Linked DNA regions of Homo sapiens: regions 2, 3, 4, 5, 6 and 7 are each linked to region 1. The links are contacts of gene promoters, found by promoter capture Hi-C in blood cells and fetal thymus (Javierre and others, 2016). All regions are on one chromosome and are shown on one strand. Each heading gives the region's core, a stretch centred on a gene start or on the middle of the fragment in contact. The rest is flanking DNA. Distances are from core to core; before and after follow the strand shown. Region 1 holds the start of TDRD1 (tudor domain containing 1). Region 2 overlaps PLEKHS1 (pleckstrin homology domain containing S1). Region 3 overlaps ABLIM1 (actin binding LIM protein 1). Region 4 overlaps DCLRE1A (DNA cross-link repair 1A). Region 5 overlaps CASP7 (caspase 7). Region 6 overlaps CASP7 (caspase 7). Region 7 has its middle 29 kb from the start of DCLRE1A.

Region 1 (3,010 bases), core at 266-2,765:
ACTCAGCTGTCATTTTTTTCCTTCTCTGATGTTTGCTTTTGTCTTCCTGGCAACCCCATGTATTCTGCAAGAACCATTCTACTCAAAGAAAACACTCCGGTTTTGGCTGGGCGCTGTGGCTCACGCCTGTAATCCCAGCACTTTGGAGGCCGAGGTGGGCGGATCACCTGAGGTGAGGAGTTGGAGACCAGCCTGGCCAACATGGTGAAACCCTGTCTCTACTAAAAATACAAAAATTAGCAGGGCGCCGGTGGCTGGCCTGTAATCCCAGCTACTAGGAAGGCTGAGGCTGGAGAATCGCTTGAACCCGGGAGGCGGAGGTTGCAGTGAGCTGGGATCGCGCCATTGCACTCCAGCCTGGGCAACAAGAGTGAAACTCTTACTCAAAGAACAAACAAAAACACTCCGGTTTTAAACAGACAAAACGCAACGCTTCGGTAAAGCATGAGCTCTTAAGTCAGCCAGGTAAGTCTCGTCTTCCTCATTTAGCCACGCTATCTTGGGCAAATCACTTCATCTTTCTAGGATTCAGCGACTGTAAAATGCAGAGGGCAGTAGTTAACTTCCTCACAAATCCTAATCACGAGAATTAAATGAGAGACGAAGTAAATCACTTAGCACAGTGGCTAGTACTTCCTAAGGGCTTAAAGGGCAGCTATTATTTCTGCTTTACTTTTATACCACTCCTACAAGCACAAAATTTCTTCCATTCCTGTGGAACCAGCTTGCAGGCTTAAGATGAAAATAATTTGAGGACTAAAGTATTTTTATTTCGTTATTCCTACAGATAAACAAGGGAGACGTGGGAAGTTGGAATAACTTACCAAACCACCCAGGGCCAGCACCTTACACAGTTTAGATAAAAACGCAGGTCAGACTCCACGGCCTTGGATTTAAGCATACAGCACCGTGCTGCCTCACTAAGGAAGCTGGAAGCATTTAGCTCCCTTAGTTCAGAAGCCCAGCAGGGCTAACGTATTTATAGCAAGGACCCTAGGGCCCGGAAAAGCTACTGGCACACAGCAGGAACTCCTTAAACAAACTAGCGCCAGCTGACCCACATCTAAGTAAATGCCCTAGCACATCTTCCTTTCCTATAGGAGGAAAGTAGGGAAAAAAAAGTCTAGTAAATGTTAATATTGTTTGTATCGTAATTTTTAGTCAAACGAAGGCACTGAATCCACATGCAAGTTTCTCTTAGAGAGAAGGTGAACGTTTGCATTTGAAGGAGTGATGCCTGGAAGCGCTATTTCCAAACTCAGAGAATCCTCCCACACCAAACCCTCGCAGCAAGGTTCCAAGTCTCCTCTCTCCACTTCCAGGCCCCTTGTACCCGCTCAACGCCCAACCTCAACGTCCAGCGCCCAACGTCTGGCCCCCAACGACCGAAGCCCCCTCCCTTCCCCTTCATGCAGGCCCTCTCCCTCCCCTATACGCCTGGGAACCCTGACCTGGAAAGAGGCAAGAGGACCGCGGATCCGAACCTGTCTCTGCGGTCTGGCGGTGATGGCGACTGCCGATGCTGGGAGCCCTGCCGCCTGGGATGCGCCCTGCACTTCCCTCGCCTCCAATCCCCAGTGCGCCCTCCTGGCCTCAGCGCACGCCTGCGCACTCCGCGTCCACGTGCAACTCAATGTGCCCACGTGTTCCCTCCGCCTTCCCCGGAAGCAGCTTGTGCTCTAGTTACAGGCTCAAAAAGTTCCTTTGCAGAAACTTTTATTTTGTTCTAGCTTCTTCTAGAAAGATGTCTCTGGCAACGCCTTTGGCAAATTTGGGCGCAAAGATGCAGACTTTGTCTCCTCGAAGGTCACTTGGGTCACCGTGGCCACTTAAAGGTCTTCCAAGGTTTTCCAAATAATCAACAGCCTCTGCCTGGTCTTGGAAAGTAAACACACACGTGCTCATACTTTTTTTCTTTGCTTCCTGACTGAGGGCATGTGATTATACCTGTTGGTGTTACTTAAAGACAAGCTTTTTAAGTTTTGTTTTTTTTTTTTTTTGCTATGGAACTTTTCTAACAATTTCATAAGGGAACCCTTGTGTGCCTATCATCTAGTTTCTACCTTATCAATTCATGGTTAATCTTGTCTACATCTGCAGCCCAGGCACTCTTCGGGCAATGTTTTGAAGCAAATCCGAGAATTGTAAATGTGAGACAAAGTAGCGAACGTCTGCTTCTGGCCCCCAGCATAGTCCTCCCTCACTGTGAAAAAGCCACGTTTGTTCACTGTGTTTGTCAGCATTTCAGACCCCTTGACTTAGTAACATCTCAGCCCTCCAGAAGAATGCCTTGAAGACTGCGGAGAGAACTCAGGTTCCCACCTCTCAGAGTCACTGCATTTTTAGAAAAGATACTTTCAGAGATCTAGGCCTTGCCTTTTTCTGTACCTAACGGACAAGATTAATGATGATGCCTAGACTTACTCTCGCACCCAAACTTTGAAAATATTTTGATCTTATATAGCTTCTGGGCACTTTTAATGTAACCCCTGGGCAGAACCTCTACCACCTAATATTTAAAGTGTGCTGACCCACTGCTTTGGAGTAGTTTAACAGAAATTCTCTGGGCTCTCCCTGGTTGCAGTCCTCAGTAAGACTCTGAATAAAACTAACTTCACTAACTTCAATTCTTTAAAAGCCTGATTTTTTTTCTTTAGTTGATGTGTCTTTTAAATTTATTTTTTAGAGCAGTTTCAGATTTACAGAATAGTGAAATGAAAGTGCTGACTGGGCGTGGGGGCTCATGCCTGTAATCCCAGCACTTTGGGAGGCCGAGGCAGGCAGATCACTTGAGGTCTGGAGTTCGAGACCAGCCTGGCCAACATGGTGAAACCCCGTCTCTACTTAAAATAAAAAAATAAAAAAAAATTAGCTGGGTGTGGTGGCAGGCGCCTGTAATCCCAGCTACTTGGGAAACTAAGGCAGGAGAATCGCCTGCACCCAGGAGGCGGAGGTTTCACCGAGCCAAGATCACTGCCACTGCACTCCAGCCTGGGCAACAGAGCAAGAC
Region 2 (3,005 bases), core at 410-2,909, 410 kb after region 1:
TTCGTGCTCTCTTCTTCACCTCGAGTGCCATCTTTCCTTTCGGCCTACTGAAATCATGTTCAGGCCTGGCTGAAGTCCCACAGCCCACTCTGATCACCTCAGCTACGGCAGAGCTCTCCTTTCTCTCAATTTCCATTGCATAGTTTTTTTACTTATTTATTTATTTATTTATCTTTGGTCTTTTTAGCTGTTTTGTCTGCTTTACTAGACTTTACTTATCATAAAGTACCTAGCAAAGGCCAGGCCTATAACTGATGCTCAGTACACATCTGATTGGTTGGCTGAACTATCATAAAAGACTGCATCCCAGGAAACAGAAATATGAAAATATTTTGGTGAAAGAAGAACTCTGTGCTCAAAGGAGCTTGGGAAATGCCATGTGTTGTATCTGACTTGACTATTTACAATGCACCACTGCATACTAAATGCTCTGAGAATTCTGCTAAGAAGCTTGTTTAACTTATTTTAACTGGGTGTTTCCGGAACTTATTTGACCCCAGAATGTTTCTTTTATATAAACATACGTCACCATCTTACGGAAAACCCCCAGTTTGGGAAATGACGCAGCATTCCCACCCTCCATTCTGTCTTCCTATCTCTCACTTCCATTCTCTTCTCTCTATAGTCCATGGCAGATATAGCTGCTCAGTTAATACTAATGGAGGATAATTCAGGTTTTGAGATTTCCCAACTCAGAAGCCATCGCTTCCCCTATGCTGTCTACAGAATGAAGTCAACTTGGCATTCAAGACCCATCATGGGCTGGCCCTTTTCTTCTGTTTATCTCCCACTATGCCTTTCACGCACTCTAGGTTGCAGCCTCACTGAACTATTCCCCATACATGTATCAAATGGCACTTCATCCCAGAAGCCTTCCTTGACTCTGATAGAGAAAATCTGTTCTTTTTCTATTGCTTCCAGAGCACACGGACCACGTCTTTTGTGCAGCGTTATCCTGTGGTAACTGACAAGACTATGCACTCTGACAGCAGGGTGATGTCAGGCTCATTACTTTAGCCACCATGCCCAGTACAGTACAGTGACTAGTGCTCAGAAGGCATTCAGTAAGGGCTTCCTACTGATCAATAGACTGATCGATACACAGCACACAACTGATCACCCAAGGACCTTGGCTCATATTATTCTTTCTGCTAAGAATGCAGAAAGACTCCTCAAGGCAATCCCCCACATCCAAATTTTACTCATCATGTATGGCCTAATGTCATCTCGTCCCTGAAATCTTCCTGATCTTTTGTTTGAAAGTCATCTCCTCCTCCCATAGCTCATGCACCCCTGGTATTTTATAAGCATCTCTCTTCAGCATAGAACCCTCTGTCTTGTATTACAGCTGTCTCCTAGTCAAGTGTCAGCACCATGAGCACGTCATCTGTATTTGATTTACTTCTGTGTTCCCACTGACCATAGCCTAATATTGCACGAAAAGTGCATGGCAGGGTTTCAGTAAATATTTGTTAAAGAAACAAATGATGAATGGACAAGAAGGGGTTACCTCTAAAAGAACACTTCGAGGAGTAAGATAATGATTCTCTTCCTTCACATCTTGAGTGGCTTCTGATAAATCTTGTAGGTGAGTTTGCCTAAATCCTGGAGAACTTTGTTCCATTAAATGCTGAAGAAAAGAGATAAAAATGCTTTGCTTTTTCTTTGCAAGAGATAGAATTAAATCACATGCATTCTAGAAAAGCCGTAATAAATTAGTTGGGTTAAAAAAGACCAGAGGGTCTTCCAAGATTACATCCAGAAGCTCACACAACTTGAACTTGCCTCTTGAGTCTGGGTCACCACTGAGGATGAAAACATATAAGCACATCACTCAGGCTTTTTTTCTCTACCGTTTGGAACAGTCACTCAGAACAAGTGGTTTTCTCCTGTGGGTGGTATTCTTTTTTTTTTTTTTTTTTTTTGAGACAGAGTCTCACTCTGTCCCCCAGGCTGGAGTGCAGTGGCGCGATCTCGGCTCACAGCAACCTCCACCTCCTGGGTTCAAGTGATTCTCCTGCCTCAGCCTCCTGAGTAGCTGGGAATACAGGCGCGCATCACCATGCATAGCTAATTTTTGTATATTTTTTAGTAGAGATGGGGTTTCACCATATTGGCCAGGCTGGTCTCAAACTCCTGACCTCGTGATCCACCCGCCTCAGCCTCCCAAAGTGCTGAGATTACAAGCATGAGCCACCATGACCAGCCCTGTGGGTAGCATTCTAAGTCACTAAGCTCTGGAGTTGCTACCCTCATCTTTTTCCTGTAATCATCCAGTGCCATCTAAGAATGTAATTAACCCAGAATCAAGGCGTTGCACCTTTCCTGTTCCTGCTCCATATTTTTCTTTTGTGTTCTGTTCACACACTTCTATTGTTTCCACAGCAATGGAATTTGGTTGTGTTGATCATATGATAGTATGAATTATGGGTTTCCAGGTGATCTAGATTCAACCACTATTGCCTCCCCTTCCCCATAGATACAGAATATTCTACTAAAGTAGCTTCTTTGCATGGCAGAAAAATTCCAAGAACAATGCCTCAGAGCAGGGGGTTTGGAAAAGACCCTGAATGTTCTCTAGAAAAAAAGTCAAGTTTTAAAATACAGGTGTGTTTAAGTTCTGTCCATGTTTTAAGTTCCAAGCTCATGGAGCCGGATCATGCTGAGTTGGGGGTAAAGGCAGCCCACTTAATTTAACCAACAACAACACCACCCAGCAAGGCAAACAGTACTGTTAACTCGAGCTGGTTTAAAAATCACTGGATCTATAGTGTGAAAAGGCAAAGTGACCAATAATGTTATCTCTAGGGGGAGGGAGATATCATGAGTGAAAAGCAAGAGGCACTTACAGACAAGGGTGAAGCTTCCTAACTGCTGCATACCACCGTTTCTACTCGCTAAATGAAGAACTGAGGTGAGGTGTTTGGCATGGTGAATTTGATATGCTACAAAAAGCTTTCAAAATAGTTGGAGAGCTACCAACTAGATAAAACAAGGGACTAGGA
Region 3 (2,995 bases), core at 1-2,500, 350 kb before region 1:
AAGCCTAAGAATCTCGTTTCAGTACAAGCTTATGCCTCAGGGACAATCACTGTCGGTTTCACATGCAGACAATAGTGAGTGAATGCAAAGAAATGGTACTTTCCTACCTGCATTTAAAAAAAGAAAGAAAGTAAATCTACTCCCCCTCCTTTTTTGGGAACATGGACTGGCCCATTGTGGTTGCTGGTGTGTTGAACTAGTAAGTAAAGCGAGGAGAGGAGGCGTGAGAGAGCGTGCCTGCCCGCCGCACACGGGGCTGGTTTCCGGAGTGCGTCTCTAGAGGGATGCACGTTGCCTTAGCCGAGCTTCGGAGAGAAGCCTGATATGTAACCCAGGCAGGTGGGAGCCTCAGTCTGTCGGGCTGAGGTCTGGCATCTACAAAGCCTCTTGGCCGTGTTCTGAACTTGAAGCCTGGAGGAGTTCTCTGCTCAGCACAGCCAAGGAACAGAATTAGAAGAAAAGGAACCCTGGCCTGAGGTAAAGCGGACATTGCACAAGGTGACCTATGTCCTTTGCTTTGCGTGGCAGATGTGAGATTTCTGGCTTCCTTCGTGAGGTCGGAGGCCGCTCGGATCCTCCAAATGTGGTGGCTGGATGCTGGCGACAGAAGTCACTTTTATTGCCCTGACATACATTTATGTAAACTTTTTGTTTTCCTGATGATACAAAAGAAACGACAGGAGCTTTTGTTCATCGATACAGAACTAGACTGAAGGGCAGGAAAGGCTGGTTATTTATTTCACTGAGAAGTGTAGTGCGTTGACCTTTTAAACAAGGCTTATGTTTTTTTAGGCTGCTACCCGCAAGATTGAAAGGAGACTGTGGTTTTCAGACTTTGGGGTTGTTTTGTTTTGTCTGTGGTTTGTAGAGCTCTGTGAAATTTACATTTGAGTCCTGTTTGGGGGATTTGGTGGTGGAAGTGGCACGTGGGAATGAGTAGATTTAGCTATTACTGTAAATTATGAGATTTTTTTTTCTTTAAGAAATACCCAATAAATGAAAATAAGGAAACAAAATGTTTAGATGTTATTCATGTTTTATTGCGGCTCTAGGTTGAAAGAGCTTGACAATTGCCTCTCTTTCCACCTTTGATATGCAGTAAAAGAAATCTAGAGATTCTGGCCTTTATATTGAAAATAGTTTTCCTAAAAACCCAGTTATTAATCGAATCATACTGTAAAGACTTTTTTTGGGGGGAAAGTGTTTTAAAATGTGCTATACTAGCATGAAAGAAGAAATGGGACCAGAAAGTTATTTCATCTGTGAAAAAAATAGATTTATGATGTTGGAAAAGAAAAAAAGAAAACGTGAGTTTGGCCATAAGCCAGCAGGAGTGTGGTCGCTATAGCAGCTTCATTTGTCACTTAGCTGAGATTGGAGACTTAAAAGAAAACTGAGCCTGTTTTTCTCTCAGACAGCCTCATAAGGAATGTTAAGAGGATGTGAAGTTATTTAGATTACCAAAACAGGTTCTGACAAGTAAGTGAAAATAACTCATTAAAATATAATTGTTGCCATTCTATAAATGGATCAAAAGGCTTGTTGAGTCACTGCGTACTTATAGAATAGGTGAATTTGCCACGGCTCATTGGTATAAATTACTTTTGAGAAGGCTTTTTAAGACTAAGCGTGAGGCCTTGCCAAGCATCCCTTATAACACTTAGAATGTTTTGACCAATGTTTTCGAGGCGGTTGCCTAAGCATTTTCATGTGTCAGTGAGTCTAATCCTCGCATCAGTGGCTTATCCAGTAAGCTCAGGGAATATTATATCCTGACAACAGAAGCCTGCAGATTTTTCTCTTCAACTAAACAATAGCTCACCTAAAAGGACAGAAAGTGAACTACTCAGTTCTTGTAACCTGACTTTCTGGAGGGATGGTCATGATTTTGGCTCCTGTAGAACAGGGTTTCTCAACCTCAGCATTATTGACATTTTGGATGGGATTATAGTTTGTTGCAGGGGACTGTCTATGGGATGTCTAGTAGCATCCTTGATCTCTACACACCAGGCGACAGTAGCACTCCCTCCCCAGCTGTGAGAACCAGAGATATCTTCAGACACTGTTAAATATTCCCTGTGGGCAAAATGCCCCTGGTTGGGAATCACTGCTAGAGGGAAACCTGTCTTGGGGCCTACTGCTGCCAACGAGGGGGAAGGGTCTATGAGAGGAGGCTGGAGTCCCAGGGAGGCCTGGCGGGGTCCAAGGAACAGTGGCAGGACAGGTGTTTTTGCCTGACCATTTGGTTTTTATTTTGTTTGGGTTTTGTCTGAAATCACATCTTGGGAATGGGGTATCAGATTCAAGGACTTGCTGCGGATATACATTCTTCTGCCCCCTTTTCCTTCTGTGCCCTTGTGGGACTTATTTTATACAGTGCTATGATTGGTATAGTAGTCAAACTTCTTTCAATTGAATTCTAAAGTGCATTCTGGGGATATACTATTTTGTCTTTTTTTAAAAAGAAGCTTATACAGTGATCCATTTTATAAAGCAAATAGTTACCCATACTTTTCCCTTCTGTAAATATAGAGTTTTTTGTTGTTGTTGTTGTTTGTTTGTTTGTAATGTGGGTTTTTAGTAAATCTGGCCATGCCTGTTAGTTTTTTTTTCTTCTAGAATCTGCAAGTGAATGCTTTCATTTCTTTTTTCTTTTCGCCATCTGTACCAGTGGGTCTCAAACTGTTTTGATTTTTTTAGGAATTGGGCCTTGTTTTGTGAGTGCAATTGAAGAATCACAGCTTTTTTCCAATTTACAGATAACGATGAAGTCAATGGCTGGGATTTTTTCCGTTTAAAATTTTTCTTACACCTTTAGCATTAATGCTACTGCTTGTTTGCTCTCAAAGGTTTACAGATTACAAAATGCATGAAGCTGCGAGTGCTGCTTTTTCTTGGTGTTTCTCCAAGAATATAGTACATTGCACTGAGCACCGTGACTTCCAGGAGCTACCACCACCACCCAAACCAGATGAGATGTACCACTGCATAGTGC
Region 4 (3,071 bases), core at 388-2,887, 340 kb after region 1:
TTTTTTCTTTTAATATAAAGTACTATCAGCATTCATGTTGTCAAAACACAACTGTCAACTCTGCTTCTTTCTACTTTCCATAGAATGTTAGCCCACTGTAACATAGAGGTCATAGATGAAGAGAAAGAAGACTAAATCTAGGTTACCTAAAATCCAGGCCAAGCTATTACATTAGGTTGCCTTTAAGTTTTTGTCTGCTAACTTTGCTACTGTTTTTTTTTTTTAATTGCCAGTTTGAATTCTGATTTTTTTTTTTTTTGAGACAGAGTTTCGCTTTTTTTGCCCAGGTTGGAGTGCAATGGCACAGCCTCAGCTCACTGCAGCCTCTGCCTCCCGGGTTCAAGTGATTCTCCTGCCTCAGCCTTCCAAGTAGCTGGGATTACAGGCGCACACCACCACACCTGGCTAATTTTTGTATTTTTAGCAGAGACGGGATTTTGCTATGTTGGCCAGGCTGGTTTCGAACTCCTGACCTCAGGTGATACACCCGCTTCGGCCTCCCAAAGTGCTGGGATTACAGGCGTGAGCCACCATGCCTGGCCGAGTTCTGATTTTTAAAGTCAACTTTATGGGGTTTTCACCATAGATCACAAAGTTAGCGTCAAGCTAGTATCACATAGTTCAATGTCTCAGGCATACAAAACAGTCTTACCAGGCATAATATTCCTAGGGTTCAGAGTTCATTTCCTAGGAGCCAGCCAAGGGCCAGTCCTGAAGACATGCTTTTCTTGGGAATGTTTGGAGTTTGAGCAACCTGGGTCTGCCTTTCCTGCACACCAGTTCTTTTTATGATGTAAATTTCCTTGAGTTGAAGTGCCGCATTTCCTGTAGTGCAATGCTATGTCATTGTGGTCAGCTAATAAAGCGTGCTAACTTGTTGATATTGAAATAGATACTGTTCCTTTAGGTGCTTGCCTGTGTTATGAACATTCCTTTGACATTTGTGTTCAGCTGTCCAGGTGCTGTCATGATCCTCTTTTATCTTCCTAATGGTACTGTCATATTACACACGGGAGACTTCAGAGCAGATCCCAGCATGGAACGTTCTCTTCTTGCGGACCAGAAAGTCCATATGCTGTACTTAGATACCACGTAAGAGAGGCTTTTTTTGTGTGTTTCCTTTTCCCACTGACAGCCTTTGCTCTCTGTATTATGGTTATCAAAATGATGGCTTATTGCCAATTATTATTTTAAGGCTCTTTATCAGAGGGATGCTGTTTGAAAAATATGTATATACTTGCTTAAGGGCAAATTTGAGATTGTATGTGTTAACTGACTACAGCTCATTTTTTTGTGTGATTTATTTTTGAAAATATGTTACATGAGAATCCTGTTACTAAAACAAGGAAGAAAAACTTAGGAGCAAACTTTAGGAAGACACCCTTTTAAGTTGTCCTTTCAGAGTAACTGTGTAGCTATTAATTGTGAAGAGAAGACAGAGGTCAAAATGTGATTCTGTTTTTGAGTATCCAAACTTGCTGTTGTTCTTTTCTTAAAAAGATAATTTATAAGTGACAGTTTTGAATTCCTGAGTGCTATAAATATAATGGCACAAGCCATTACATTTTAACTGTGTATGTATTTCTCCCTAGCTTTATTAAGTAAATAAAAATTGTATATATTTCTGGTGTATGATGTGATTTTATATATTAAAATATCTCATCAACTTGTTAGAAATTATCTTAACCATTTCAACCTGTTTCAAGGAGAAGTACGTTTGGATGCAATATTTTAGTAAAAGATGGTCTTTCCGCATCCAGTTTTCTCACACTATAACTGGTTTTTCCATTCTTCTATATGAGTTTTAAGCACTGGATAAATTAAGAAAATAAGTTTTTAAAAAAACCCTTTTTTGTTACCTAGTTCTATTCTGATACGATTCTGAATTTCCTCATGGGTTGTTATAGGAGAAAGGTTATTCTTACTCTTCTCTAGTAGTTGACTAGCAAAACAATTCTGAAAATTGGGAAAAATATGTTTCTTTGGCTTTTGCAGTTTATTACATTTTTAGTGAAAAAGTGCTTACTTTTCATATCAAATATAGATAGATAGATAGTAGCTTAATTTTTCACTGGGTTATATTGCATGGAGATAGACCCAACTGGATCTGTTGTATTTGCATGTATCTGTGTGTGTGTGTGTGTGTGTGTGTGTGTGTGTGTGTGTGTGTGTACACATGTACATATATATACACATAGTATATATATTTTGTATCTGTAAGAAATGATATTAATATCAACCATGTCAATATTAACTGATTTAAAACTGTTTCACTAAATTCATATTTAGTTTCATTACTTTAATCATTTTTTATTGACAGTCTTTAGTCCAAATATAATCCTTATCAATATGATTTTTTGATAGTGTTTGGAGTTAAATAAAAGACAGTGAGGTTTATAATTTATAACTAAAATAGCTGGCTTGCTAGAAATATTCTTGGAGGAAAAAAGTCTTCAAAAAGACAATTTTTTGAGAGTGATAAAAGAAATATAATGAAAAAGATATATTGAAAACTTACAATTTGATCTTAAGTTAGTAGTAACTGGCAAATAATTCCAACCACAGGCAGTGAGATAACTTGTGGTATTAATATATTACATTGCTGTTGTATGTAAGTTGCTAACGCTTGTTTTCTAAAATAGCATCCAGCTTAAGGTGATGGCTTTTTTATTGTTCTTTTAGTAAGTACCATGTTTCCATACCACAGATATTGTAGCCCAGAATACACCTTTCCATCTCAGCAAGAGGTTATCCGGTTTGCCATCAACACTGCCTTTGAGGCTGTAACTCTAAACCCACATGCTCTTGTTGTCTGTGGCACTTACTCTATTGGAAAAGAGAAAGTCTTCCTAGGTGAGTTGTAGGTGTATCTAATTTACATTAATATATTATAAAGATCAGATTCTTTTTGCATAATGCCCTTTCAGTTTCTACTCTTGCATTTGATAATTATTTCCTGTAATGATTCAATATTACCTTTGAAGTTGAAGGAAAATTTGACAGTTTGAAACATTTAATCTTTGAAAGGTTTGACTTTAGGGAAACATTTGATAATTGTGTTTAATTTAGGC
Region 5 (3,118 bases), core at 531-3,030, 460 kb after region 1:
TCCCAAAGTATTGGGATTACAGGTGTGAGCTACCACATCTGGCCTAAAGTAGGGTTCTTACCATGTCAACTGAATTTCAGAGCAAGCTTCCTGGATCCTGCAGCTAATTTAAGGCTATTCAAAGATCCTAAGACTAGCATGAAGTCTAGCAGGCTGGAAGTCACAGTTTATGCACTAAAATCCTTTCAGAGATAAAAGTCCTACTTCTTTCTTCTGTGGTATGGATCTCTATGATGATATCCAAGTAAAAAACAAGCTGGGATGTTTTAAAAGCTGTCATTAGCTCATCCTCAGTGATGAACAAAACAAAACCAGCAAGCATCCTTTAAGAGAAAAACAGAATTAGATATGTTATGTAAAAAATAAAAGGACTCTGGTTCTATCAGAATAAAATTTGGAAAATTAACTGGTTACATAAAAAGAACACAATAGGGGAAGAAAGAGAAACACTTTAAGAAAACACTGTCCATGGTTATGAAAAGTACCTTACAACTGAATATGAAATGTGGTCCTCACTCCTGGTAAATATCTCAAAAGGGTGATACCTAGCCTGCCCCTAAATTGAACTCCTATTTTTCAAAATGAACTTAATATCTGCTTCCTCCTTCTGGATTTGAGTCCGCCAATATTAATTTCTCCTTCTAAGCAAAAGAGCTTAGCTAGTCTGCCCCTAAAATGAACTCTTATTTTTCAAAATGAACTTGGTATCTGCTTCCTCTTTCTGGATTTGAGTCAGTCAATATTAATTTTTCCTTCTAACCAAAATAGCTTTTTGTTAAACCCACATCTTCCCAGACCACAGATGTGTGTTTGTGAGTGACTATCAATTCAATCTCTTCTTAGGAGGATGAATTCAATTCATCCTCCTAAGAAGAGCTGGCCTTGGGAAAACTCCATCCATAGCTTAACTTTGAGGAAGCAAACCCCGATGATTAAAACATGTAACTGGAGACAGACAAAGAAAAGGTGCAAATGATTGTCTAGAAGGCATCAGGAGGAAAGCACCAGAAAAAAGGGGAGAGGGACTAAAAGTCCACTGCTTATAGATATATTCTGCAAGAATGAGAGTCCAAGAGATTAGGCTTCCACCTAAGCTGTGATGTTTTAAGGCACCTTCTTTCCCCTGGGGATTAAATCCCTTTCATCCCTATTCTCCCTTTGAGGCTACAGTGAGAGCCACCATATTGGTAGAAAGTGATTTGCCATCCTGTCCCCTTGACCTTGCAGCCACCACTGATTGGTCCAGGGGGCACCTGATCCCTAGGCTGGGTCAATCAGCCCTCTTCCCTGGGAATTTGAGAATTGAAATTGAGAAAAAGAGTCATTCTGTCAAGGTGGTTAAAATGAGAGTTGGTGGCCGCCATGTTTTACCATGTGGCTTGAGGAGCCAAGAGGACAGACTGGCAAAGATTGGGCAGAACAAAGCCAATGGATAAGAGAAATGTGGGAATGGAAGAGGAGAGTGGGTAACGTTCACCCAAGATTCCTGTGAGCCTGAGCGTTCCTTTAAAAAGAGAAATCAAGCTGGGCACAGTGGCTCACGTCTGTATTCCCAGCACTTTGGGAGGCTGAGGCGGGCAGATCACCTGAGGTAGGGAATTCAAGACCAGCCTGGCCAACGTGGCGAAACCCCATCTCTACAAAAATTAGCTGGGCGTGGTGGCTTGTGCCTGTAATCCCAAGCTACTCGGGAGGCTGAGGCAGAAGAATCACTTGAATCCGGGAGGCGGAGGTTTGAGTAAGCCGAGATCATGCCATTGCACTCCAGCCTGGGTGACAGAACAAGACTGTCTCAACAACAACAACAACAAAAATCAGATTCCACCATCACCACTTAAAGCCCTCCCAGGGCTCCCTGTGAAACTCCGTTCCAGGGTTTCTGAAGCCTTCAGGGTGTCCCTGCTGGCCTGTCGGCCCCAGTCCTGGTGCAGCTCTCCCCTGCACGGCTCAGACCTGCTTGCGGAGGATCACAGGGCATGGCAGGACCCAGGGCACCCACGATGGCTCCCACCCGGTGGAGCTGGCCACTATCCCTGGGTCTCTTGTCTCTGCACACAACAACCCTAGTTCATTGGGCATCATGCTGCTTGCTCCCTCAGGCCAGGACCCTGGAACGCTCAAGGTACATCATCTTCTGACCTGTTGTCCACCATTGCCTCCTAACTGGCTTCTCTCCAAAGTGAGCTTTTAAATAAAATGGTAAGGCCAGGTGCGGTAGCTCGTGCCTGTAATCCCAACACTTTCCAAGGCCAGTGTGGGCAGATCACTTGAGTCCAGGAGTTCGACAGGGAGAAACTTGGTCTCCACAAAAAATACAAACAAACAAACAAATAAATAAATAATTTTAGCCAGGCGTGGTGGTGCACGCCTATAGTCCCAGCTGCTTGGGAGGCTGAGGTGGGAGGATCACTTGAGCCTGGGAGGCAGAGGCTGCAGTGAGCCGAGATCGCGCCACTGCATTCCAGCCTCGGCAACGGAGACCCTGTATTTAAAAAAAAAAAAATATATAAATCCAGTCAGATTAGTTCCTTGCCCAGAGCCATCCAGTGGTTTTCCCATATGCTGGGAAGGAACTCCAGGGTCCTGACCACAGCCCACAGGGCCTACATGAGTTACTACCCCTATTATATCCACTTTTTCCTTCCCACTCCTGCCTCAGCCTCAGGAGTAGCTGGGATTACACGTGCACGCCACCATAACCGGGCAATTTTTTTTGTATTTTGTTAGTAGAGATGGGGTTTCATCATGTTGGCTAGGTTGGTCTCGAACTCCTGACCTCAGGTAATCTGCCCACCTCGGCCTCCCGAGGTGCTGGGATTACAGGTGTAAGCCACCACGCCGGCCCCTGCTTTAATTTTTAAATTCATCACCTGACCTCAAATTACAGAGCTATGTTGTCTCCTGCTAGAGTGTAAACTCTATGAGGGCAGGACCTGGACTACTTCACTGCAGTTCCCCCAGCTTCTACAACAGTGCCAGACACATAGCAGGTGCTCAACAGTGTTTTGTGAATGAGTGAAGAGCGTTTCGTGCTGAAGAAACACCACAGTCAGAGGCCCTGGGCCACCTCTGTTTAGGTGATCAGCTAAATGGAGCTGCCGTCCTGCCTGGTGACCAG
Region 6 (3,376 bases), core at 691-3,190, 480 kb after region 1:
GCTAATTTTTTTTTGTATTTTTAGTAGAGACAGGGCCAGGCTGTTGGCCAGGCTGGTCTCAAACTCTGGCCTCCCAAAGTGCTGGGATTACAGGTGTGAGCCACTGCACCTGGCCAGTATTAGAATCACTTCTCCTAAATCAAGTCCCATTTTCTTCCCCATGAAGGGATCAGGGATCAACTTTCAGGAATAAAGAGAAACTTCAGACTCCAATTTCTACCTGGTCCCAACTGTTACTAGAAAAGGGTCCTGATGCAGACCCCAAGAGAGGGTTTGGACCTCGCGCAAGAAAGAATTAAGGGTGAGTCCATAGAGTAAAGTGAAAGCAAGTTTATTAATAAGGTAAAGGAATAAAAGAATGGCTACTCCATAGGCAGAGCAGCAGCTTAGGCTGCTGGACTAGGGATACTCATAGTTATTTCTTGATTATATGCTAAAACAAGGGGTGGACTATTCACAAGTTTTCCAAGGAAGGGGTGGGAAATTCCAGGAACTAAGGAAGTTCCCCTTTTTAGACCATATAGCGTAGCTTCCAGACATTGCTATAGCATTTGCAAACTGTCATGGTGCTGGGGGGAGTGTCTTTTAGCATGCTAATGGCTTATAATTAGTGTATAATGAGCAGTGAGGGTGACCAGAGGTCACTCTTGTCACCATCTTGGTTTTGCTGGGTTTTGGCTGGCTTCTTTACTGCAACCTGTTTTATCAACAAGGTCTTTATGACCTCTACCTTCTGCTAACCTCCTACCTCATCCTGTGACTAAGAATGCCTTAACCTCCTGGGAATGCAGCCCAGTAGATCTCAGTCTTATTTTACCCAGCCCCTATTCAATATGGAGTTGCTCCGGTTCAAATGCCTCTGATACAATCCCTGAGCAACTTCACTGAGCAGGCCGCGGTTGTCAGGTGCAGTTCTGTATTCCAGTTAGGGCTCACCCAGGGATGCTGTCATTAAGTTGGAAAACAAGAAGGCATCTACTTTACAGAATATTTTGTGCCGCTGAGCACAAGTAATAACTTTTGGAGGTGGGGAGAAGGAATGCAGTTCAGAAGGAGGTGTCCAAGGAGGCAAAGTGACAACCTAGTGGCCTTGCACTCCGAATGGCATTATGGTGTCACCTTCCAGCTTATCTGAGGGTGAACTGGGAAGAGGGGAGGGAGCTAAGAAGGGAAAGTCCTACTGCCAGGTCTCTACAATGACCATGGGAAGTCAGATGGTCACCTTGTTTCTCAACACATCATGAGCCTCCCTTCATCATCACCAATGTGTTTCTGGTTGGGAGGCAGATTTTTCAGATTAGAACCCAAAGTTTCTCAAAAATGGAGATAACTCACAGAGGAGATAAGCATAAGGCCACACATGCAGAAAATACCTGATAGCCTCTCTTGTCTCCTTTACATAGACTTAGTTACTTTCCAATATAGACTGTTATTAACACAATACACACTCACATATTTTCAAAACTAGTAAGTCAAAGTTTTAAAAAAATCCACCAGACAAAGACACTAACTTTGATATGTGGTGTTAATCAAGTTGGCCCTTTTGCTAAAGTTAATCTTAAAGGCTCAATCTAGGGTATATGATGACAACACAATATAACCACTATTTTTAAAAGAAAGAAGAAATGTCAGTGTGATAGCGGAATAGGAGGTTCCAGTTTTCATTCTTATATAGAAATACTGATTTTGGCAACTACACCTATGGACAAGAATACTTTTGTGAGGCCACAGGAGTCCACTGAGAGGTTTCAGCACACTGGTGGAGCAAAAAATCGAAGAGTGGATGCATCAAAGAGTATAATAAGAGCAGCTCACTTTACCCACATCACCCCTCCCCTAAGGTGGCACAGCTCAGTTCCAAGAGAGGTCCCTCCAGCTCACAATTCTCCCATGGGGGAAGTGAGAGTGAAGTGAGCACCCAGCTTTCCCAGCCCAAAAGGATGTTGTCTAGGAGACCCACTTCTGTTTCATCCCACCCAGAACACTGAGGGGAATAGTACGGCTGAATCGTCTGGGGCAGCCAGGAGCAAGGAGAAGCAGCAGCAGGAGTGCAAATAGTGTATGGTTATCAAAAGCCGGCTATAGATTCTGCTACCCAGCTCATGGATGCTACCCTAAGTCCCTCCCATAAACCCTGCAGGACAACTTGCCTATGTACCCCTTCAACCAGCTGATATGTACCTCAGTGCACAACAGTCTGTACACAACCACAGACAATGCTTGGATCTCAACAGCAGGTAGGGATATTAGCAGCCAGCTCAACTTTGATGGATTGAGAGAAGACATATAACTTTGAACATTTCAGGGTACTACCCTAAGGAATAAGCAGGAGGCTTTTAGCACAAGGTCTGCCTTTGCAGGACTGAGAGAACACATATAATCCCAAAGAGGGAACAAGAGGTGTGGAGCAGGTATATCTAGAGAAAAAGTGTGAGAGATCCCCAGAATCTCTAGCTAAGCTCACTGGCAAAGGTCTTTCTCTCCTAAAGCCAGTCAATAAAGACGGGAAGAGGTGACTGCTTCTTCAAGTGTGAACACACAATGCGAGGCTTCAAAGAACACAAATAATCAAGGAAATATGACACCACCAAAGGAACAAAATAAAGCTCCAGTGGCTGATCCCAAAGAAATGGAGATCTATGAATTACCTGACAAAGAATCCAAAATAATCATCTTAAAAAAGCCCAGTGAGGAACAAGAGAGCAGACAGACAAATAAATGAAATCAGAAAAACAACAAATAAACAAAATGAGAAGTTCAACAAAGAAATAAAAACCAATAAATGAACGAAACAGAAATTATGGAGCTGAAGAATACAATGTCTGAAATAAAAAATTCAATTGAGAGTTTCAACAGTAGACTTGATCAATCAGAAGAAAGAGTCAGTGAACTTGAAAACAGATCATTTGAAATTAATCAGTCAGAGGAACAAAAAGAAAAAGGAATGAAAAAGAGTGAAGAAACCTATGCAATTTATTGGACACCATCAAGTGAACCAATATATGCAGTATCGGTGTCTCAGAAGGAGCAAAGAGAAAAGGGTAGAAAGTTTATTTAAAGAAATTATGACAGAAAACTTCCCAAATCTGGAGAGGGAAAGGAACATCTAGATTCATGAAGCCCAAAGAACCCCAAACAGATTGGGCATAAATAGGTCTTCACTGAGACACATTACAATCACTGGTAAGAGTCAAAACAGATAAGGAGAAAATCTTGAAAGCAGCAAAAGAAAAGCAACTGATTTTTTTCCAAGATGGCAGATTGGAGGCATTGTTAGCATGCCTCTCTCACTTGGGAAGATAAAATAGTGTGTAGAGATTCATGCTGTGTACTTTTTTCCAAGAAGCAACACAGGAACTTAATAGGAAAACTGAAA
Region 7 (3,258 bases), core at 408-2,907, 350 kb after region 1:
TAATAATATATACAGTATATTATTGTAGCTTGACTAGTCTAAGGTCACGCCTTAGACCTTGAGAAACACATTTCAGTTGTGGGGTCTCTGTGAAGTGTTGAAGCTTAAGACGAGGTCCTTGCCTTTAAGGAATTTAGAGTTTCCTTAGGAGGCTGGACAAAAGCTAATATATATAAAATACTTAAGAAATTAATCTGTGTGGTTTCATATCTTGAGAAGCCTGAGATTTAGGGTAGATTGAAATTGTATGATCTAGTTGGTGAAATAGAACACACAGGAAACTAATTTAGAAACAAAACGGTATGTAAAGTCGTAAGTGATGAATTGGACTGATCTTTAAACAACTTATTTGATTTAAATCAAACTTGGTTTTACATAAGTGCTACTTCTGCGTTTCAGACTGAATTTGCGGGGTTTAAATCCTGGTAGAACTATAGTAGATTATGTAGAGATTCAGAAACACCACTTTGTCCCAAATATGATAGGCTTTTTTTTTTTTTCAAAGGAAAAGGAAGTTTAGCGAAGTCAAATTTCATTATCTGTATAAGCCCTTCTGTTATTTCAACATGGAAAGCAAGTGCTTAAGATCATAAAATGGCATCAAAGCAGGGCTTTAATACACCATTAGATAATGTTACTAAACTGTTTTTTAAGTTTGTTTGAAAGGACTGTTACAAATTTCCTGCTGAAGCCCTGAGCTCTGATTACATATCACATGGGATAAACAGATAAAATTGTAAAATAAACTAAAAGCAACAGTATCTGGAAGCAGGGAATAAAGCCCAAATATCCTTGTTTGCTAAGTCAGCCAGTTTTTTTTATTAGTATCTTTTATCTGTGGAGAGTGCTGAACTCTATTTTTTTTTGAGACGGATTCTTGTTCTGTCTCCCAGGCTGGAGTGCAGTGGCGTGATCTCGGCTCACGCAACCTCTGTCTCCCGGGTTCAAGCGATTCTCGTGCCTCAGCCTCCTGAGTAGCTGGGATTACAGGCGCACGTCACCATGCCTGGCTAACTTTTGTATTTTTAGTAGAAACGGGGTTTCGCCATGTTGGCCAGGCTGGTCTTGAACTCCCGAAGGTGATCCGCCCACCTCGGCCTCCCAAAGTGCTGGGATTACAGGCGTGTGCCCGGCCCCCAAACTCTATTTTAAAATGTTTTTAAAACAGTTTTATTGAGAAATGATTCACATACCATACGATTCACACATTTAACCTGTACGACTCATTGGTTGTTATTATATTTACAGAGTTGAGCAACCATCACCACAATCAGTTTTAGAATACTTTTATCATCCAAAAAGAATCCCTAGACTGGGCACGGTGGCTCACGCCTGTAATCCCAGCACTTTGGGAGGCTGAGGCGGGTGGATCACGAAGTCAGGAGATTGATACCATCCTGGCCAACATGGTGAAACCCCGTCTCTACTAAAAATACAAAAATTAGCTGGGTGTGGTGTTGCACCCCTGTAGTCCCAGCTACTCGGGAGGCCGAGGCAGGAGAATCGCTTGAACCTGGGAGGTGGAGGTTGCAGTGAGCCGAGATCGCGCCATTGCACTCCAGCCTGGGTGACAGAGCAAGACTCCATCTCAAAAAAAAAAAAGAAGAATCCCTGGACCCATTAGCAGTCATGCCCCAGTTCCCTACCACCTGCCTTCTTTGGTCCTAGGCAACAACTAATTTTCTGCCTGTATGGATTTAACTGTTCCAGACATTTCTTATAATAGAATTATATAACACATGGCTTTTTTCACTTAGCATATTTTCAAGGTTCGTCCATGTTGTGGCATGTGTCAGTACTTCATTCTTTTTTATGGCCAAATTATATTGAATTGCTTGAAAATGCCACATTTTGTTTACCCGTTCATCTGTTGGTGGATATGTGGGTTGTTTCCACTTTTTGGCTATTATGAATAATGCTGCCATGAACATTGGTGTATAAGGTTTTGTGTGGATATACATTTCATTTCTCTTGGATATATACCTAGGAGTAGGATTGCTGGGTCATATGGTAACTTTAAACTTTTTGTGGGACTGCCAAATTGTTTTTCAAAGTGCTGCATCACTTTACATTCCCACCAGCAATGTATGAGAGTTCCATTTTTTCCACATCCTCACCAACACTTGTTATTGTTTTTGCTTGTGGACATCTTGGTGAGTGTGAAGTGGTATCTCATTGTAGTTTTGATCTGCGTTTCCCTAATGACTACTGATGTTGAGTATCTCTTCACTAACTGTTTTGAAAGGGAACAATGTATAGAAAGCTCAATTAAATGGATGTTCTAAAATGTATTATTTAAACCCAAGCAAAATAGTTTTATAGACTTTGGCCTTGAATTGCTATATGATTATGATGTTTAATCATGGGAAGCCTACAATTTTGTTTCAATGAGAATTATTTGAATTAATAATAGGGTAAAGTTAAAAGGCACAGCAGCATTGCAGGTGTCATGAAGTGGTTGTATGCAGTGCAGGTAGGACAGTTACTGCTCCAGATTGCAGAAAGTAATGAAAATGAATTCATAATTGTCAGTTGGAATGGAAAACTTGAGATAGGGGAGTTTTAAATATCAAGGTAGATAACATCAGCTGACCTCGAATAAGCAATGTCATTTTTAAAAAGTGTTGATGTGAATATATAAAATGTAAATCTTTAGTTTTTAAACTTTAAAATTGCAGCAGGCTCTTATAGATCTTCTCTGAAAGTTGGATAATGAAATTGATAAATTATTTGAGTTACTTTTAGCTCAGAGTCTATAATTATATAATTCCTGGTTAAGATCAAGTTTTTTAAAACATACATAGTAAAAGCATAGAGTTTTAAACAACCCAGCTATTCACATGTCATGCGAATAGATAAGCAGCCAAGAAACTTATCTTTTTGTTTCCAAGGTCTTGACTTTTATATAAGAACTCTATTCTTATTCCAGGTTGTATCCTAGTACTTTATTCATATGTATTAAAATTTTTAACAGGTTTTTGACAAAGAACAGGTAAGATAAGTCAGGAGTCATTAGAAGTTCAGCACAAAGCGTTTTTGGTCAGCGTTTGAAATCCCTGGACGAGAGGAAACAGATGGGTTTGGTTACATTATCGTTGCTGTGCCAAATAAACAGTTGGGGAAAACATTAAATATCCTTTTGCTACATATCAGCTTGGTGTTTGATGTTAACAGTGGTAGCCTTTTCATCTAATTTAGTGATAGAAGCTTGAAAATGTTTTAAAATATATAACATAAAAAACAAAGTTTATTTGAATC

Evidence for each region. Contacts are between HindIII fragments. The CHiCAGO score rates a contact against its expected background, and 5 or more counts as called.
Region 2: a contact is called between a fragment that was not itself captured here and the fragment with the promoter of TDRD1 in region 1, in 1 of 17 cell types (monocytes). The highest score is 5.8, in monocytes.
Region 3: a fragment that was not itself captured here is called in contact with the fragment with the promoter of TDRD1 in region 1 in 1 of 17 cell types (naive CD4 T cells); the score reaches 5.0 in naive CD4 T cells.
Region 4: a fragment that was not itself captured here is called in contact with the fragment with the promoter of TDRD1 in region 1 in 6 of 17 cell types (activated CD4 T cells, non-activated CD4 T cells, naive B cells and 3 more); the score reaches 5.7 in activated CD4 T cells.
Region 5: a contact is called between a fragment that was not itself captured here and the fragment with the promoter of TDRD1 in region 1, in 1 of 17 cell types (naive B cells). The highest score is 5.5, in naive B cells.
Region 6: a contact is called between a fragment that was not itself captured here and the fragment with the promoter of TDRD1 in region 1, in 2 of 17 cell types (fetal thymus and naive CD8 T cells). The highest score is 6.2, in fetal thymus.
Region 7: a contact is called between a fragment that was not itself captured here and the fragment with the promoter of TDRD1 in region 1, in 3 of 17 cell types (neutrophils, monocytes and naive B cells). The highest score is 5.3, in neutrophils.

The regions. Positions count from the first base shown.
Region 1 is chr10:114,177,858-114,180,867 of GRCh38, reverse strand. TDRD1 (tudor domain containing 1) reads right to left here and starts at 1,515. Exons shown (of 25, transcript NM_001395205.1): 1 at 1,452-1,515. The HindIII fragment of the contact is 8,256 bases long and covers 1-1,973 here.
Region 2 is chr10:113,770,595-113,773,599 of GRCh38, reverse strand. It overlaps PLEKHS1 (pleckstrin homology domain containing S1), which reads right to left. Exons shown (of 13, transcript NM_001395068.1): 8 at 1,511-1,630. Among named protein-coding and RNA genes, the nearest start is that of MIR4483, 6.0 kb to the left of the region's middle. RefSeq lists an enhancer at 1-986. The HindIII fragment of the contact is 2,413 bases long and covers 453-2,865 here.
Region 3 is chr10:114,524,142-114,527,136 of GRCh38, reverse strand. All of the region lies in intron 6 of ABLIM1 (actin binding LIM protein 1), which reads left to right. Among named protein-coding and RNA genes, the nearest start is that of AFAP1L2, 120 kb to the right of the region's middle. RefSeq lists enhancers at 1-218, 389-508. The HindIII fragment of the contact is 2,440 bases long and covers 31-2,470 here.
Region 4 is chr10:113,842,125-113,845,195 of GRCh38, reverse strand. It overlaps DCLRE1A (DNA cross-link repair 1A), which reads left to right. Exons shown (of 9, transcript NM_014881.5): 5 at 952-1,092; 6 at 2,708-2,853. Among named protein-coding and RNA genes, the nearest start is that of DCLRE1A, 10 kb to the left of the region's middle. The HindIII fragment of the contact is 4,432 bases long and covers 1-3,071 here.
Region 5 is chr10:113,714,189-113,717,306 of GRCh38, reverse strand. The region is part of intron 2 of CASP7 (caspase 7); the gene reads right to left. Among named protein-coding and RNA genes, the nearest start is that of CASP7, 36 kb to the right of the region's middle. The HindIII fragment of the contact is 3,383 bases long and covers 89-3,118 here.
Region 6 is chr10:113,693,002-113,696,377 of GRCh38, reverse strand. The region is part of intron 1 of CASP7 (caspase 7); the gene reads right to left. Among named protein-coding and RNA genes, the nearest start is that of CASP7, 15 kb to the right of the region's middle. The HindIII fragment of the contact is 5,855 bases long and covers 1-3,376 here.
Region 7 is chr10:113,823,416-113,826,673 of GRCh38, reverse strand. No RefSeq gene overlaps it. Among named protein-coding and RNA genes, the nearest start is that of DCLRE1A, 29 kb to the left of the region's middle. The HindIII fragment of the contact is 3,104 bases long and covers 106-3,209 here.